Linked DNA regions of Homo sapiens: regions 1 and 3 are each linked to region 2. Evidence: promoter capture Hi-C in human tissues and cell types (Jung and others, 2019). All regions are on one chromosome and are shown on one strand. Each heading gives the region's core, a stretch centred on a gene start or on the middle of the fragment in contact. The rest is flanking DNA. Distances are from core to core; before and after follow the strand shown.

The links. The method cuts DNA at HindIII sites, captures the fragments that hold promoters and counts their contacts. A contact is called where the count stands out against the background at its distance.
Region 1: a fragment that was not itself captured here is called in contact with the fragment with the promoter of MLXIPL in region 2 in 1 of the 25 tissues and cell types used here (dorsolateral prefrontal cortex).
Region 3: a contact is called between a fragment that was not itself captured here and the fragment with the promoter of MLXIPL in region 2, in 1 of the 25 tissues and cell types used here (IMR-90 fibroblasts).

The regions. Positions count from the first base shown.
Region 1 is chr7:73,819,468-73,822,167 of GRCh38, forward strand. No RefSeq gene overlaps it. Among named protein-coding and RNA genes, the nearest start is that of CLDN4, 10 kb to the right of the region's middle. RefSeq lists an enhancer at 412-990. The HindIII fragment of the contact is 3,377 bases long and covers 1-2,700 here.
Region 2 is chr7:73,623,239-73,625,938 of GRCh38, forward strand. MLXIPL (MLX interacting protein like) reads right to left here and starts at 1,284. Exons shown (of 17, transcript NM_032951.3): 1 at 962-1,284. The coding sequence starts at 1,254. The HindIII fragment of the contact is 21,137 bases long and covers 1-2,700 here.
Region 3 is chr7:73,751,641-73,754,340 of GRCh38, forward strand. No RefSeq gene overlaps it. Among named protein-coding and RNA genes, the nearest start is that of ABHD11, 14 kb to the left of the region's middle. The HindIII fragment of the contact is 3,086 bases long and covers 1-2,700 here.

The DNA.
Region 1 (2,700 bases), core at 65-2,564, 200 kb after region 2:
CTAGAGTGCAGTGGTGTGATCTTAGTTCACTGCAACCTCCGCCTCCCGGGTTCAAGCAATCCTCCTGCCTCAGCCTCTCGAGTAGCTGGGACTGCAGGCACCCGCCACCACATCTGGCTAATGTTTGTACTTTTAGTAGAGACGGGGTTTCACCATGTTGCCCAGGCTGGTCTCGAGCTCCTGACCTCAAGTGATCCTCCCTCCTCAGCCTCCCAAAGTGCTGGGATTACAGGCGTAAGCCACCTTGCCCAGCCACACAGTTTTTTATCTAATGGTCTTTTTCTGTTCCAGGATCTCATCTGGGATCCCATATCACATTTATTTACATACAATTTACACTTACTTACATACTATTTACATTTATTTACACATATTTGCATTCGTTTACATATATTGATTTCTATGGCTCTTCCCCAGTGTTCTGTTTCTGCTTCAGGAGCCCACCCAGGACACCAGGTGACATTTAGTCATCACGTAACGACGGCTCCTCTTGGCTGCCACAGTGTCTCAGCCTTTCCTTGTTATGACGATCTTCAGGTTTTAGGAGTGCTGGTCAGCTATATCGCAGATGCTCCTGTCTTGGGATTTGTCTGATGTTTTTCTCATGATTAGATTAGGATTATGGGTTTTTAGGAGAAAGATCACAGGTAAAGTGCCATTTGCTTTACATTCTATCACGAGTATAGATTATTAGCATGACAAATAACTACTGATGTTGACTTTGATCTCCTGGCTGGGGCAGTGATTGCCAGCTTTCTCCGCTGTAATGTTACCCTTCCTGTGCTGCACCCCTTGGAACGAAGTCACCCTGTACAGCCCATACTCATGTTATTCTCCCCGCCATGAGGGCAGAAGTATCTGCATACATTTTTTGGAGTTTAAAAACTTCTTTTAAACTAAAAAAAACACTTTTTTTTTTTTCAGGCAGAGTTTTGCTCGTCGCCCAGGCTGGAATGCAGTGGCCCGATCTCGGCTCACTGCAACCCCCGCCTCCTGGGTTTAAGCAATTCTCCTGCTTCAGCCTCCCGAGTAGCTGGGATTACAGGCGTGCGCCACCATGCCCAGCTAATTTTTGTATTTTTAGTAGAGATGGGGTTTCACCATTTGGCCAGGCTGGTCTTGAACTCCTGACTTCAGGTGATCCACCCGCCTTGGCCTCCCAAAGTGCTGGGATTACAGATTTTTTTGTTTCTTCTTTTTTTTTCCATTTTATTTTATTTTTTTGAGACAGAATCTCGCTCTGTTGCCCAGGCTGGAGCACAGTGGTGCAGTCTCAGCTCAGTGCAACCTCTGCCTCCGGGTTTAAGTGATTCTCCTGCCTCAGCCTCCTGAGTAGCTGGGATTACAGGTGCCTTCCACTATGCCCCGCTAATTTTTTGTATTTTTGGTAGAGACAGGGTTTCACCATGTTGGCCAGGCTGGTCTCTAACTTCTGACCTTGTGATCTGCCCACCTCGGCCTCCTAAAGCGCTGGGATTACATGCATGAGCCATCACACCCGGCCTCCATTTTATTTTTGTTTTATTCACAAAGACCCCAATAACAACTATTTTAATTTTTTGTTGGTTGGTTGGTTTGTTTTTGTGACGGAGTCTCCCTCTGTTGCCCAGGCTGGAGTGCAGTGGCGTGATCTTGGCTCACTGCAACCTCCGCCTCCTGGATTCAAGCAATTCTCCCACCTCAGCCTCCCAAGTAGCTGGGACTACAGGCATATGCCACCACGCCCAGCTAATTTTTGTACTTTTAGTAGCAACGGGGTTTCGCCACGTTGGCCAGGTTGGTCTCGAACTCCTGACCTCAAGTGACCCACCAACCTGGGCCTCCCAAAGTGCTGGGATTACAGTTGTGTGGCACCACGTCCGGCCTAAAATCTTTAAAAAAATTGTTTTTTTTTTTTTGTAGAGACAGGGTCTTGCTATGTTGCCCAGGGTGGTCTGGAACTCCTGACCTTAAGTGATTCTCTCACCTGGACCTCCCAAAGTGCTGGGATTACAGGCGTGAGCCACCTCGTCTGGTCCCACCAGTGATTTCTGATTCCTCAGTGTGACTGCAAGGCCAGTGAGCCCCAGGCCCTGAAGACATCACACAAACTGAAGCCTGGAGGTTTTTATGGCAGCCAAAGCTTGGCAATGGCTGATGGGACAAGTGAGGGCCTTCCCTTCCTGATGTCCTGGGACCGCATATATCCAGGTCAGAGTGGGAGCTACAGGAAGGACTGACTGTGAGTTCTCTGCCAGCCTGCTGAGATGGCAAAGAATGGGAATGAAATTGACTGAAAGAAAATAAACATGGATGCTTGTTGCACGGATGTGGGTGAGGAGAGCCAGCCTGTATGGGGACATGGGGATGGAGACTGATGCTGGGGGGGTAGTGACACCAACTGGGTGGCAGCTGGCAGGCCCCTGGGCATCCACACTCCCCCTGCTCAGTTGGAGAGAAGCAAGAAAGCATAAAGGGAGGGAGGGAGGGAGGAAAAGAGGTGGGAGATGAGTGCTGTGGGTGAGCGCTGAAGCACACTTCAAAAGCTCAAGCCACAATGCTTACGCCCTGATATAAAAAGAGCATTGAGTTGAGCGTGGTGGCTTACGCCTGTAATCCCAGCACTTTGGGAGGCTAAGGCGGGTGGATCACTTGAGGTCAGGATTTTGAGACCAGCCTGGCCAACATGGCGAAACCCTGTCTCTACTAAAAATACAAAAA
Region 2 (2,700 bases), core at 34-2,533:
GAAGGGGAGGAGGCGCCGCGGAGGAAGAGGAATATTTGCACAGAGAAAAGATCAAGGCCGGCCGATCCCCCTTTCTCCCCTACGGGTTTTCGGTTGATAATTTATACTGGCCCCTCAACTCCGGGGAACTTTGCTCCAGGGCACTGGGCCAGGCCTCGGGTTCGCGCCCTCCTCTGGGACGCGGGGCGTGGAGCGGCAGCGGGGCGCGGCCTGTGCGCTCTCGGTGGCACTAAGCGGGGGTCCCAGGCAGCGACGGGCGCTCAGCCTAGTGTGGCGACGTGGGTAGGCGAACCCAGGCCTCCCGGGCACCGGCGTAACCTCTGCGAGCTGCGCCTCTTGGACATTTCTGGGACATCCTCCTCCCGCCACCCTTAATGTAGCAGATCAAGAAGAGGTGTCTCAGCAATTGCGGGGAGGTGGACGTGAGAGTGGGCCAGTTCCAGTCCACTTTGGTTATGAACTGGGACAATCAGGGGCGCTGGGAGTATCTCAGGGTCCAGGAATAGGGCGGGCTTGGGCCGGGGCTGCTGGGGAGAAGGCCGAGGCCTGCAGGGGGTCGGGTGGAGTGGCTCCAGAGTGGAGAGTGGGGATGGGCGCGGGTGGCCTAGGGACCAGGGGCGCCTGGCATTTTTGTAGGGACGGAGGGGCTGGGACCAGAGAGAGGGGACCAGAGGTCCAGGTAGAGGTGGGGCGCAGGCGGTCTGCGCTTCGGGGAAGAGGGAATGGGGGAGGAATGGGAATCAGAAATGCGTGGGTCCGTCAGGGGCCAGCGGGCTGGGCCGCTGTAGGAGGACCTCGGGGCTGGGAGAAAGGGGGTGTCCAGGGCGTGATCGGAGCCTCCGGGAGCCGCAGGACCGGGCTCGGGTGGGGTGTTGAGGGCCCCAGCGCGCAGTCCTGCCCCGGACCCCCCCCCCATCCCCACCTGGAAGCCAAGGCCGTCAGGGCCCGGAACCGCCCTCACCTGTAGGCCAGGCTCAAGCACTCGAAGAGGCGTGTGAGTGTGGGGTCGATACTGCGCGGCCCGAAGTCGGAGGGCCCCACGGACCCCTCCTGGTCGCGCCGCCGGGGCAGCGAGTCGCTGTGCGGCGACGACACCATGAAGTGACCGCTGTGGATGACCTGCGAGCGGAGCAAGCCGCCCGCGCTGCGCCGGAGACTCGGGTCCTCCGAGTCTGTGTCCGAGTCCGAGTCTGGGCTGGGCGCGACCCGCGGGACCTGCAAGCCCGCGGCCAGACCTGCCAGCGCGCCGGCCATGGCTGTCGCCGCCGCAACCGCCTGGTCCCTGCTCCGCGCAGCGCGGGGAACAGCTCTTGGCCAGCCGGGCCTCATTAACATAGCCCCGCCCCCACACCATAGGCCGATCGGGTGGGCGGGGCCTGGGACGGGGCGGGGCTTGTATTAGCATAATCCTTACGCCAGGTGAGAACCCGGTGCTCTGGAGCTCTGGCGGGTTGGCCCCATCTCCCTTCCCGTCTTTCCTTGGAGTCCTGATAGAGCCGCCCCTACTTTGCTCCAAAGGGATATTAAGAAAGGTCAGGCCGGACGCCAGGGGCTCTTGCCTGTAATCCTAGCACTTTAGGAGGCCAAGGCGGGAGGATGGCTTGAGGTCAGGAGTTCGAGACCAGCCTGAGCAATATGGCAAGACCCCCATCTCTACCAAAAAAATGCAAAAATTAGCCGGACATAGTGGAGAAAGCCTGTAATACCAGCTACTGGGGAGGCTGAGGTGGGAGGATTCCTTGAGCCCAGGAGTTCGACAATATGGCAAAACCCTGTCTCTACCAAACATACAAAAATTATCCAGGCATGGTGGCGTGTGCATGTAGTCCTAGCTACTCCGAAGGCTGAAGTGGGAGAATCGCTTGAGACCAAGAGGTTGAGGCTGCAGTGAGCGGAGATCGCGCCACTGCACTCCAGCCTGGATGACAGAGTGAGACCCTGTCTCCACAACAAAAGGGTCCCCTATCACACCTGAGCCTGAAAGCGCCTCAGGACCTGGGGTTTGTTCTTTCAGGGGCACCCTCCTGTGAGGCCAGAGATCACCATCTCCCCTCACCTAACTCCTGCCCTTCACCTCCAACCCCCGCCCCCCATATTAGCTCTTCTGGGTCCTCCACATAGGTAGAAGCCCCCAACTCTCAGGGGCCTGATGTGGTAAGCCCAAGGTAATGCCCCTGAAGGGCCTGGCCCACAGGAGGTTGCTAACACCTCTAGTTAACATGGTGGCCAACACGGTGGCCGGGCGCGGTGGCTCTCGCCTTCAATCCTAGCACTTTGGGAGGCCATGGTGGGTGGGTCACTTGAGGCCAGGAGTTCGAAACCAGCCTGGCTAACATGGAGAAACCCCTTCTCTACTAAAAATACAAAAATTACCGGATGTGACGATGCGTGCTTGGCTTATAATCCCAGCTACTCGGGAGGCTGAGGTGGAAGAATCACATGAGCCCAAGAGGTGGAGGTTGCAGTGAGCCGAGATCGCGCCCTACTGCACTCCACCCTGGGCAACAGTGAAATCCTGTTTCAAAAACAAAATAAAATACTTAAGAAAAAATATATATTAAAAAAATTGTGATCATTACTTCACCTGCACAGAGAGGCCCAAGGGGAGCCTCGAGGGACTGTTACTGGTAGGGATGGGTGGCTCACTGGAAGGTGGACATCCCCTAGGCAGGCATCTACCCAGGAGCTCTGAGCCCCTTC
Region 3 (2,700 bases), core at 7-2,506, 130 kb after region 2:
CATTCTGAAAATCCCAGGGCCCTTAAGAATTACATTAAATCGGCCAGGTGCGGTGGCTCACACCTGTAATCCCAGCACTTTGGGAGGCTGAGGTGGGCAGATCACCTGAGGTCAGGAGTTCGAGACCAGCCTGACCAATATGATGAAACCCTGTCTCTACTAAAAATACAAAAATTAGCCAGGTGTGGTGGCATATGCCTGTAATCCCAGCTACTTGGGAGGCTGGGACAGGAGAATCGCTTGAACCCAGGAGGCAGTGCCGTGAGCCGAGATTGCGCCACTGCACTCCAGCCTGGGCAACAAGAACGAAACTCTATCTCAAAAAAAAAAAAAAAAAAAAAAAAAGAATTACATTAAATCGACTCTGCCTGTGCTCTAGAAATGGAACAACAAAGCTTAGGTGACTGCACATCTGTTTACAAGATGGTTTGCTGAATATTTGAAGCCCACTGTTGACACCTCCTGCTCAGAAAAAAGAAAAGATTCTGTTCAAAATAGTATTGCTTATTGACAATGCACCTGGTCACCCAAGAGCTCTGCTGAAGATGTACAAAGAGATTAATGTTGTTTTCATGGCTGCAAATAAAACATCCATTCTGCTGTTCATGGATCAAGGAGCAATTTAGACTTTTAAGTCTTATTATTTAAGAAATACATTTTGTGAGGCTGTAGCTGCCATAGATAGTGATTCCTCTGATGGATCTGGGCAAGGTAAATTGAAAACCTCCTGGAAAGAATTCGCCATTCTGGAAGCCATTAAGAACATTCAGGGTTCATGGGAGGAGGTGACAATATCCACATTAGCAGGAGTTTAGAAGAAGTGAATTCCACCCTCATGGATAAGTTTGAGGGATTCAAGACTTCAGTGGAGGAAGGAATTGCAGATGTGGTGGAAATAACAAAAGAACTAGGATTAGAAGCCAAGCGTGAAGATGGGACTGAATTGCTACAATCTCATGATCAAACTTGAAAAGATGATGAGTTGCTTCTTTGTTACGTCTTGGTGTTTTTTGAGACAGAGTCTCGCTCTGTTGCCCAGGCTGGAGTGCAGTGGTGTGATCTTGACTCACTGTAACCTCCGCCTCGTGGGTTCAAGAGATCCTCATGCCTCAGCCTCCTGAGTAGCTGGGATCACAGCTGTGCACCACCACACCCTGCTACTTTTTGTATTTTTTTTTTTTTTTTTAGAGAGGGGCTTCGCCTTATTGGCTAGCCTGGTCTTGAACTCCTGGTCTCAAGTGATCTGCCTGCCTTGGCCTCCCAAAGTGTTGGGATTACAGGCATGAGCCACTGTGCCTGGCAAGGGGTTGCTTCTTATGATGAGCAAAGAAAGCGGTTTCTTTTTTTTTTTTTTTGGAGACGGAGTCTTGCTCTGTCACCCAGGCTGGAGTGCAATGGTGCCGTCTGGGCTCACTGCAATCTCTGTCTCCTGGGTTCAAGCGATTCTCCTGCCTCAGCCTCCCAAGTAGCTGGGACTACAGGCACGTGCCAGCATGCCCAGCTAATTTTTGTATTTTTAGTAGAGACAGGGTTTCACCATGTTGGCCAGGCTGGTCTCAAACTCCTGACCTCAAGTGATCCACCTGCCTCAGCCTCCCAAATTGCTGGCATTACAGGCGTGAGCCACCGCGCCCAGCCAGAAAGTGGTTTCTTGAGATGGAAACTACTCCTGGTGAAGATTGTGTGAACACTGTTGAAATGACAACAAAGGATTTATAATATCCTATAAACTTGGTTGATCAGCCATCTAAGTTTTATAGTTTTAGATCTTATATTTAGGTCTTTGATCCATTTTGAGTAAATTTTTTTATATGGTGTTAAGGAACCAACTTCATTTTTTTGCATGCAAATATCCAGTTTTCCCAGCATTATCTGTGAAAAGATTGCCCATTCCTCACTGAGTGGTTTTGGTATCCTTATTGAAAATTATTTGACTTCATATATGAGTGTTTATTTCTGAGCTTTTTATTCTATTCCATTGGTCTATATGTCTGTCTTCATGCCAGTACCACTGTTTTGATTACTGTAGCTTTGTAGTAAGTTTTGAAAGCAGAAAGTATGAGTCCTCCAACTTTGTTCTTTTTTTTTCTGAGACAGAGTCTCACTCTGTCACCCAGGTTGGAGTGCAGTGGTGCAATCTCAGCTCACTGCAACCGCCACCTCCCAAGTTCAAACAATTCTTGTTCCTCAGCCTTCTGAGTAGCTGGGATTACAGGCTCGCACCACCATGCCTGGCTAATTTTTGTATTTTTAGTAGAGACGGTGTTTCACCATGTTGGCCAGGCTGGTCTTGAGCTCCTGACCTCAGGTGATCCGCCTGCCTCGACCTCCCAAAGTGCCGGGATTACAGGCATGAGCCACCGCGCCTGGCCTCTTACTGTTTCTGGATATGAATTTCCTGCTTCAATCAGGTCAGCCTCTGCTCACTCTTGTGCATATCATTTTTCTGCCTTGTGCATATCATTTTTCTCCTTGCTGTTGCCCATCAGTGAATCCTGCTTGGGAAGGCTTCCCCTCTTAGCTCTGCCCATCTCAAACTTACTTATTTAAGACTCAGAAGCATACTTATAGGTTGGGCATGGTGGCTCACGCTTGTAATTCCAGCATTTTGGGAGGGTGAGGTGGGCGGATCACTTGAGCCCAGGAGTTCCAGACCAGCCTGGGCAATATGACAAAACCCTGTCTCTATTTAAAAAAAGA